Linked DNA regions of Homo sapiens: all the other regions are linked to region 1. Evidence: promoter capture Hi-C in 16 types of primary human blood cells and fetal thymus (Javierre and others, 2016). All regions are on one chromosome and are shown on one strand. The core of a region is centred on a gene start or on the middle of the fragment in contact, and the rest is flanking DNA. Distances in the headings are between cores, read along the strand shown. Region 1 holds the start of SLC25A13 (solute carrier family 25 member 13). Region 2 has its middle 6.6 kb from the start of TECPR1. Region 3 overlaps LMTK2 (lemur tyrosine kinase 2).

Region 1 (2,709 bases), core at 117-2,616:
TCTCATCTTAAATTGTAGTTCCCATAATCCCCACATGTCATGGGAAGGACCCGGTGAGAGACAACGGAATCATGGGGGCGGTTACTCCCATGCTGTTCTTGTGATAGTGAGTTCTTATGAGATCTGATGGTTTTACAAGGGGCTTTCCCCCCTTTGCTTGGCACTCATTCTCTCTCCTGCAACCCTGTAAAGAGGTGCCTTCCACCACAACTGTAAGTTTCCTGAGGTCTCCCAAACCATGCGAAACTGAGTCAATTAAATCTTTTGGTTTATAAATTACCCAGTCTCAGGTATTTCTTCATAGTGGCATGAGAATTCTCAGTATTCTTATTGAGCCCTGGGAACAGTCTGCTGCCTTAACAGGTTATACTGAAGTAAACATTTATGTGTCTCTTTCCCAATAGCCCTGAAGCTGTTTAACGGTTGGAACCAGTTCTTAAGTCATTTCGGGGTTTCCAGCACCAAGCACAGTGCCTAGCACATAGTAGGAAGGCACTCAATCAACGTTAATGAATTAAACTGATTAGTAATAAGTGCTTTTTGCTGCCATATTACATCCACAACCTACAATACATTAAAAGTCCTTTTCCCTGATCACCACTGTCTTATAAATTTTGATTACAAGGACAGAAGAATGAAATCCTGATGAAGAGGAGTAAGGCCTGGAGGTCATATAAGCAAATTTTCATTAAAATGCTTGTTTATTTATTTTAGTAGGGCCTATTTGGGGGAAGTCTTTTGACCCGGGCCTTTTGACTTCTACCGTTTTAACAGGTAGGGCTGAAATGGAGTAGTTTCATGAATATACGTTCTGCACTACATTCACTTGTTGGGTTCTTAAGAGTTCACCGATTTTGATCTAAAAGTAGGCGTGCCAGCAATATTTGCAATCTCGCCTTCTAAGTCAATGCTTTTGGATCAAAGTCTTTTTGGATCCAGTGTAAAGTGGAGCTCCTTCAAAGGGAACGCACAGGGGAAAAAATATCCAGCAAAGTATGTGTCCTAGTGGAGTTCTCAACTTCCCCAGGCCGTGCACCATCTGTCGTTACTTGCCCCTCCCATCGGTCCGAGGGCCCAGTAGCCCCTGGTATCAGCAGAAGCCAGCAGCTTCCCTGGTGGGGCCACCTGCCCTCAGGTGACGGGCTTGCACACGGCCAAGTTACCTCTGCCCACGCCGCAGAGGCCGCCGCTGCTGGACAGCGCAGCGGGGTCACGTGTCCCTGTCCAGCCACTGCCCCAGGATCTGAGCCCTCCCCGGCTGCAGGGCAGAGGCCGCTGGATCACGCGCACCCCGGCGGCCAAGGCTGGGCCCAGCCAATGGGCGGGCAGCATCCACATGACCCGCGCCGGCGGGAGGGCGTGGGGAGGCAGGCCAGGAACGCACGCTGCCTGGCCGTATCGCCGCCCCCACCGCCGCCGCCGCCGGGACTAGAAGTGAGCCGCCCGGGTCCCAAACGCCAGCCAGCCAGTCAGTGGGTCCCGCAGTCGCCCGCAACCGGGGCGAATCATGGCGGCCGCCAAGGTAACCGCGGGCCCGAGGCCGGGGGGAGCGCGCCTGCCGGATCAGCCTGGGGGTGCGAGAGGCTCGGGCGCTCACGTGTCTGGGTTGGTGCCACAGGCGGAGCAAAATGGGGTGCCGGGCAGCCGTTCCACCTTGCGGCTGCTGGAGGGAGGGGGCCACTCCTCCCGGGCAGCACAGGCGGTCGGTGCAGAGACCGAGGCCCGACCTCGCAGCGGAAACTTTGTGGGCCGGACACTCCCACTTGGCCGGGGAGGGAAGTTGGTGCCTGACGGGGCTGAGCCAGGGCCGACGAGGAGGAGCGGGCGCGACTGGGGCCTGGTGCACCCTGGGCCGGCAAGCGCTGGGGGTCCTCTCTACCTTCCCAGCGCGCTCCTGCTCCTGACCCCGCTGGTTGTTGACTCCGGCTTCTTCCAGGGGCCAGAGCCCGGGCTGAAGCCTGATCCTATTACGTTTCAAGGGCTCCGCCCTCCCGCGGGTGGGGAAGTTACTTTGACTTCCGTTTTGGAAACTGCCTAGGAGACTTGGTCTGCGCCTTTGTGAATAAAAAGTCCAGGGACTCTCCCCCTCCCCGCTTTCCCATCATTCCCATCTTCCCCCTCCCTCTCTCCATCTGACAACACTTAGATACCCGCCTCGGAGCATTTGAGAGGCTTCTTTTTGGGAACGATGAAACAGATTGTCCTGGGAGCCTGTCACTCCTGTGAAGTTGTACTTGAAAGGGGTTCTGTGTAATGTGAATCATTCACTAACCCAGAGGAAAGGCAACTCCAACACTTGACCTTTCCTCTTTCACCATTTCTTGAAACCTGGACACCATTTCAGTCTCTTTGGACTGCATTTCAACTTCTCTGGCAGAATACCATATTTAGTCCCAATCACTTGAATCATTTGGAATTTATTGCTTTTAATTTAAGTTCACGAAGGCAGCCCTCTAATCAAGCCTATACAACTTCTTAGCTCATTTTAAGTGCAGTGAACTTAAATATACCTAACATTTCAAACATTTGTCCTTAATCAAAACTCTGTGATAACCCTCAAGAGGAAAACATGGCCAACACATCATATTCCTATTTATTCAAGCAAACTAATCACATTTGCAATGGAAATTGTAAGCAGACAAATATATTTAAATGCTGTTCTATGACTTAAGTCTCTCCAGGCTCCCCAAATCCGTAGGCTTCTTCATG
Region 2 (2,709 bases), core at 141-2,640, 1.9 Mb before region 1:
AAAAAAAAAAAAAAAAAGTTAGTGGCTGGGTGCGGTGCCTCACGCCTGTAATCCCAGCACTTTGGGAGGCCGAGGCCGGCAGATCACAAGGTCAGGAGTTTGAGACCAGTCTGGCTCACATGGTGAAACCCTGTCTCTATTAAAAATACAAAAATTATCAAGGCGTGGTTGTGTGCGCCTGTAATCTCAGCTACTCGGGAGGCTGAAGCAGGAGAATCGCTTGAAACTGGAAGGCGGAGTTTGCAGTGAGCCAAGATCAGGCCACCACGCTCCAGGCTGGGCAACGAGAGCAAAACTCCATCTCAAAAAAAAAAAACAAAAAAATTAGCCAGGCATGGTGGTGCAGACCTATACTCCCAGCTACTCAAGAGGCTGGGATTAACCAGGCATAGTGGTGCAGACCTATACTCGCAGCTCCTCAAGAGGCTGGGGGTGGAGGATTGCTTGAGCCCAGGAGGTTGAGGCTACTGTGAACTATGATTATGCCACTGCACTCCAGCCTGGGTGACAGAGCGAGACCCCATCACACACACACACACACACACACACAAATCGTGTGATGCTGTCACTTGATAAGTTATCCCATTCATGTAAAATTAGGTGATTTGCTCCACCTCCCAGGCTCAAGTGATCCTCCCACCTCAGCCTCCCAAGTAGCTGGGACTACAGGCCCGCACCACCATGCCCAGCTAATTTTGTATTTTTTAGTAGAGACAGGTTTCACTATGTTGGCCAGGCTGGACCATATGTGCTTTGTAAAACCCTTCCTTAATTGTAAAACATAAGACACAGAGAAAAGCATATCAGACATAAATCTTGTGAATTATTGTAAAGCAAAACCTGACACCACCAAGGTCAAGCATGAGAATCTTGCCGGCCACGGCCAACCCTCTGTGTTCCTTTCCTGCCCCAAAGGCATCCACATCCTGGTTGTTGTAACATTATGCTAATCACCTCCTTGTCTTTATACATTTTTTTTTTTTGAGATGGAGTCTCGCTCTGTCGCCCAGGCTGGAGGGCAGTGGCGCCATCTCAGCTTACAGCAACCTCTGCCCCCTGGGTTTAAGCGATTCTTCTGCCTCAGCCTCCCAAATAGCTGGGATTACAGGCGCACACCACCACTCCCAGCTAATTTTTTGTATTTTTAGTAGAGATGGGATTTCACCATGTTGGCCAGGCTGGTCTCGAACTCCTGACCTTTTGATCCACCCACCTCGGCCTCCCAAAGTGCTAGGATTACAAGGGTGAGCCACCGCGCCTGGCCGTCTTTATACTTTTACTACCAAACATACACTCTCAAACACTATAATAAAGTTCTTGGCTGTTTTTGAAATTCACATGTCAATGGGATCACATATATTCTTTTGTGTTTGGTTTTTCTCTCCTTGGTGTATGTTCAAGACTCATTCATGTTGTTGCATTTAGTTGTACTTCATTGTTTTGTTACCAATAATATTACACTGTATTAGGTTGGTGCCAAAGAAATTGTGGTTTTTGTCATTACTTTTACTTATTTATTTATTTTAGAGGAGTCTTACTCTGTCACCCAGGCTGGGGTGCAGTGGTGTGGTGCGATCTTGGCTCACTGCAACCTCACCCCACCGTTGGGGTTCAAGTGATTCTCCTGCCTCAGCCTCCTGAGTAGCTGGGATTACAGGCATGCGCCACCATGCCCAATTAATTTTTGCATTTTCAGTAGAGATGAGGTTTTGCCATGTTGGCCAGGCTGGTCTCGAACTCCTGACTTCAGGTGATCCACCTGCCTCGGCCTCCCAAAGTGCTAGGATTACAGGCGTGAGCTACTATGCCTGGCCTTTTTTCTTTTTTTCTTTTTTCTTTTTTTTTGAGACGGAGTCTCACTCTGTTGCCCAGGCTGGAGTGTAGTTGCATGATCTCATCTCACTGCAACCTCCACCTCCTGGGTTCAAGCAATTTTCCTGCCTCAGCCTCCTGAGTAGATGGGATTACAGGTGTGTGCCACCATGCCCAGCTAATTTTTGTATTTTGAGCAGAGAGTTTTGCCATTTTGGCCAGGCTGGTCTCAAACTCCTGACCTCAAGTGATCTGCCCACCTCGGCCTCCCAAAGCGTTGGGATAACTGGTGTGAGCCATCGCACCCACCCTGTCATTACTTTTAATGGCCAAAACCACAAGTCCTTTTGCAGCAACCTAATGTGACTCCATCACACTGATCATGCATTCCACTACAGATGGACACCTGGGGCTGTTGTTACATAGAGAATGCTGGTAAGGTGTGTACGTACAGCACCTAAATCACTGCTGGGCCACAGCACAATCTTAGCTTCAGCTCTATGAGGTCATGTCACTGATTTCCCCAGTGATGGCACCAGCTCGTACTTCTACTCCCTTAGCCTGTCTGGCAGGCAACTCATTGTGGGTTTAATTTGCATTTTCCTGCTTATCGCTGTAGTTGAGCACTTCTTCATAAGTTTATTGACCATTTGTTTCTTTTTCTTCTTTCTTCTTTTTTCTTTCTTTTTTTTTTTTTTTTTGAGACAGAGTCTTGCCTTGTCACCCAGGCTGGAGTGCAGTGGCGCGATATCGGCTCACTGCAACCTCCGCTTCCCGGGTTCAAGCGATTCTCCTGTCTCGCCCTACCGAGTAGCTGGGACTACAGGCGCGTGCCACCACGCCCAGCTGATTTTTTTTATTTTTAGTAGAGACAGGGTTTCACCGTGTTGGCCAGGA
Region 3 (2,709 bases), core at 106-2,605, 1.8 Mb before region 1:
TTTGCGACTCTGTCAATTTGTGTGTGGTGTCTTTTTCTATACAGAATATTTCATTTTTGTAAATCAGATTTGGCAGTATGTTCCTTTATGGATTCTGGATTTGGTGCATGCTTGGAAAGGCCTCTCGTATCCCAAGATGATAAAAATATTCTGAGGGTATTCTACTCAGAGAAATTTAAAATAATTTCTTCCTACGGAGAGGGATATTAGGGTACAGGGCTTCAGTAAAACAGAAAGGGGTGTGTATATAAACAAAATTACAATGGCTGCCCAGGTCACCATAATTTCTCTTCTGCCTGCATCTGACTGTGCTCCCATCCATCCCCAGTAGATCCTGAAGAGAAGCTGTCTGTCTGTCCCCACCTTCCTGACCAGTGATGGCTCTGCATCCTGTGACTTAGGTGAAGACAACCAGAATGTCCCTCCAAAGGGTTTTCTTTCTGGTCCAAGGAGAGAGAGAAAGAAGCTCCTTTCCTCTATGGTTATAAAACTACAAGGGAATGGGTGTGGAGCTGCTGGCAGCCAACCTCCCTACTGAGCAGAGAAGCTGCCTAAGAGATTCAGCAGATATGCAAAGAGAAGAGAAAATCAGAAATGAATTAAAATGCTGATGATGTTCCAGGCCCTGGTTCTAGCTGTCTCCAAGGTCAGCTGAACCCCTGTTCTTCCTACGGTCTGGGTCCATGTGTCAGAAAATTCTCGTTTCCACTTAGGCTGATCTAATTTGGAATTCAGCTACTTGAAATGAATCCACCGGGGATCGACTATGGGCCTGTAAAAGCTCTGAGAAGTCTCTCCAGGTTTTTCTTAAGTATAAAGGAAAGCAAATTATCAAACAAGCAACAATAAAATATTTCCATTTAGAGTAAGTATACTTAAGTTATCCCAAGAATATATTAGACCTCCTTTTAAACTTCATTATTTTGGTTGGAGTAGGGGTATTGTTATTTACAGCAATTAAACACTCCAGGTTGTTTTTTTTAATGCTGCAAAATCTATAAATTTAAATATATTCTTACTTTACAAATATTTAAATGAAATGCACCAACTATGTCACGTTCCATCTGGCTTTTTCTTATAGTCATGCCTGCCTGCAGTGGCATCAGTTCGGGGGTTTATTCTGCCCTAGGCAGAGCCCACAGCGTGTGTCACACCAGAAAAGGTAGTCCTAGCATCTACAGACTTACACAGCCTTCTTGCGGCAATCTCAGAAAACCCTACTTCTTGAACCTACTTCTTTGGTCAAAGCAAAAGCTTAAAATATTTTTTAAAAGGTATTATTTTAATCACAGAATAAGAATTTCTTAAGACCACAAAAAGTTCTAACTCTAAAAAGGGCTTAAATTTCAAACTCTAAAAAAAAAAACTATAGTCACATTCTATTTTTCTAGTCACATTCTATTTTTTCACAAGACATCAACTAACACAGAACCAAACCTCTGTCTGAAGAAGCTTAGAAAAGTCAATCTGATTAACATATCCAAACTTTCCTCTCCTACCCAAATGCAGGGCATCCCAGTGGAAGCCAGCAGAGTCCTACTCAGCAAGGTCAGCCGTGGCCAGAACTAGCAGAGAAACCACCTCCAGAACAGAGCCTGGGAGTTCTGGCCAGGTGTTCAATGTCAATGAATCAAGGAGATTCGTTTTATTCTCATACCAGACCCAGGGTCCAGAAAGCAGAAGACAAAGCTATTGCAGGAATACAATGGGCCTGACCACTAGAATTCAGCTTCACTGGGAGCAGAAGGAAGAGAAATAAACCAAAGAGGAGATGGGCAGTCCAATATTTATGATGGCTAGGCTCCCATTCTCAGATCTCAGAAACAATTCATGAAAACGTGGCATTAGGCTGTATGGTCTTACCTACAGAAGGCTGGAATTGCGAGGGAGCTGGGAGTGAAATATTTGGTACTGAAAGTGTGAAGACCTCTGCTGGGGACTGAACAGAGGGAGTGTCTTCTGCTGGTGGTGTGAAATCTATCTCATCATCAAAATTATCTTCAAATTCCTAAAATGAAAGAGAGCAAGCATTAAAAACCATTGGCTAACATTTAAAATAGGAACATATTTGCACAATGATTTGGAACTTGCTGCCACAATTATTTTTTTCCAGTTTGTACTTAATGTTAAGTAAAAAGCATATGTAATTTTGTTCTCTGACTCCAAACAGCAGAATACATAAGACAGGAAAATAAATTATACATATTTCATGTAAGTTTTTAAACTGTTAGTTTGAAGTTAAATGCAATGGAATTTACACAAAAATAGTTTTCTAGGCTTAAAAATTTACTCTCAAATGACTACAGTTTAAGCAATTCTTTTTTTTTTTTTTTTTGAGACAAGGTTTTGCTCTGTTGCCTGGCTGGAGCACAGTGACTGGAGCACAGTGGCATGATCATGGCTCACTGCAGCCTGGACCTCCAGGAACCAAGTGAGCCGCCTACCTCAGCCTCCCGAGTAGCTGGGACCACAGGCACGCATCACCACGCCCAGGTAATTTTTTGAATTTTTTTTTTTTTTGTAGAGGCAGAGTCTCCCTATGTTGCCCAGGCTGATCTCAAGCAATCCTCCTGTCTTAGGCTCCAAAAGTGTTAGGATTACAGATGTTAGCCACAGCGCCTGGCCAAGCAATTCTTTTAATATTATTACTTTTGTGACATGATTCTTTGCATACTGAATCAAAATAAATCATTTTATTTTAAAGTTGTA

What was found. The method cuts DNA at HindIII sites, captures the fragments that hold promoters and counts their contacts. A CHiCAGO score of 5 or more calls a contact.
Region 2: a fragment that was not itself captured here is called in contact with the fragment with the promoter of SLC25A13 in region 1 in 1 of 17 cell types (neutrophils); the score reaches 6.5 in neutrophils.
Region 3: a contact is called between a fragment that was not itself captured here and the fragment with the promoter of SLC25A13 in region 1, in 1 of 17 cell types (neutrophils). The highest score is 5.2, in neutrophils.

Annotation. Positions count from the first base shown.
Region 1 is chr7:96,320,755-96,323,463 of GRCh38, reverse strand. It overlaps SLC25A13 (solute carrier family 25 member 13), which reads left to right and starts at 1,366. Exons shown (of 18, transcript NM_014251.3): 1 at 1,366-1,522. The coding sequence starts at 1,508. RefSeq lists a silencer at 1,231-1,570. The HindIII fragment of the contact is 9,010 bases long and covers 1-2,709 here.
Region 2 is chr7:98,257,454-98,260,162 of GRCh38, reverse strand. No RefSeq gene overlaps it. Among named protein-coding and RNA genes, the nearest start is that of TECPR1, 6.6 kb to the right of the region's middle. The HindIII fragment of the contact is 4,932 bases long and covers 1-2,709 here.
Region 3 is chr7:98,140,696-98,143,404 of GRCh38, reverse strand. LMTK2 (lemur tyrosine kinase 2) reads right to left here. Exons shown (of 14, transcript NM_014916.4): 3 at 1,864-2,008. Among named protein-coding and RNA genes, the nearest start is that of LMTK2, 35 kb to the right of the region's middle. The HindIII fragment of the contact is 198 bases long and covers 1,257-1,454 here.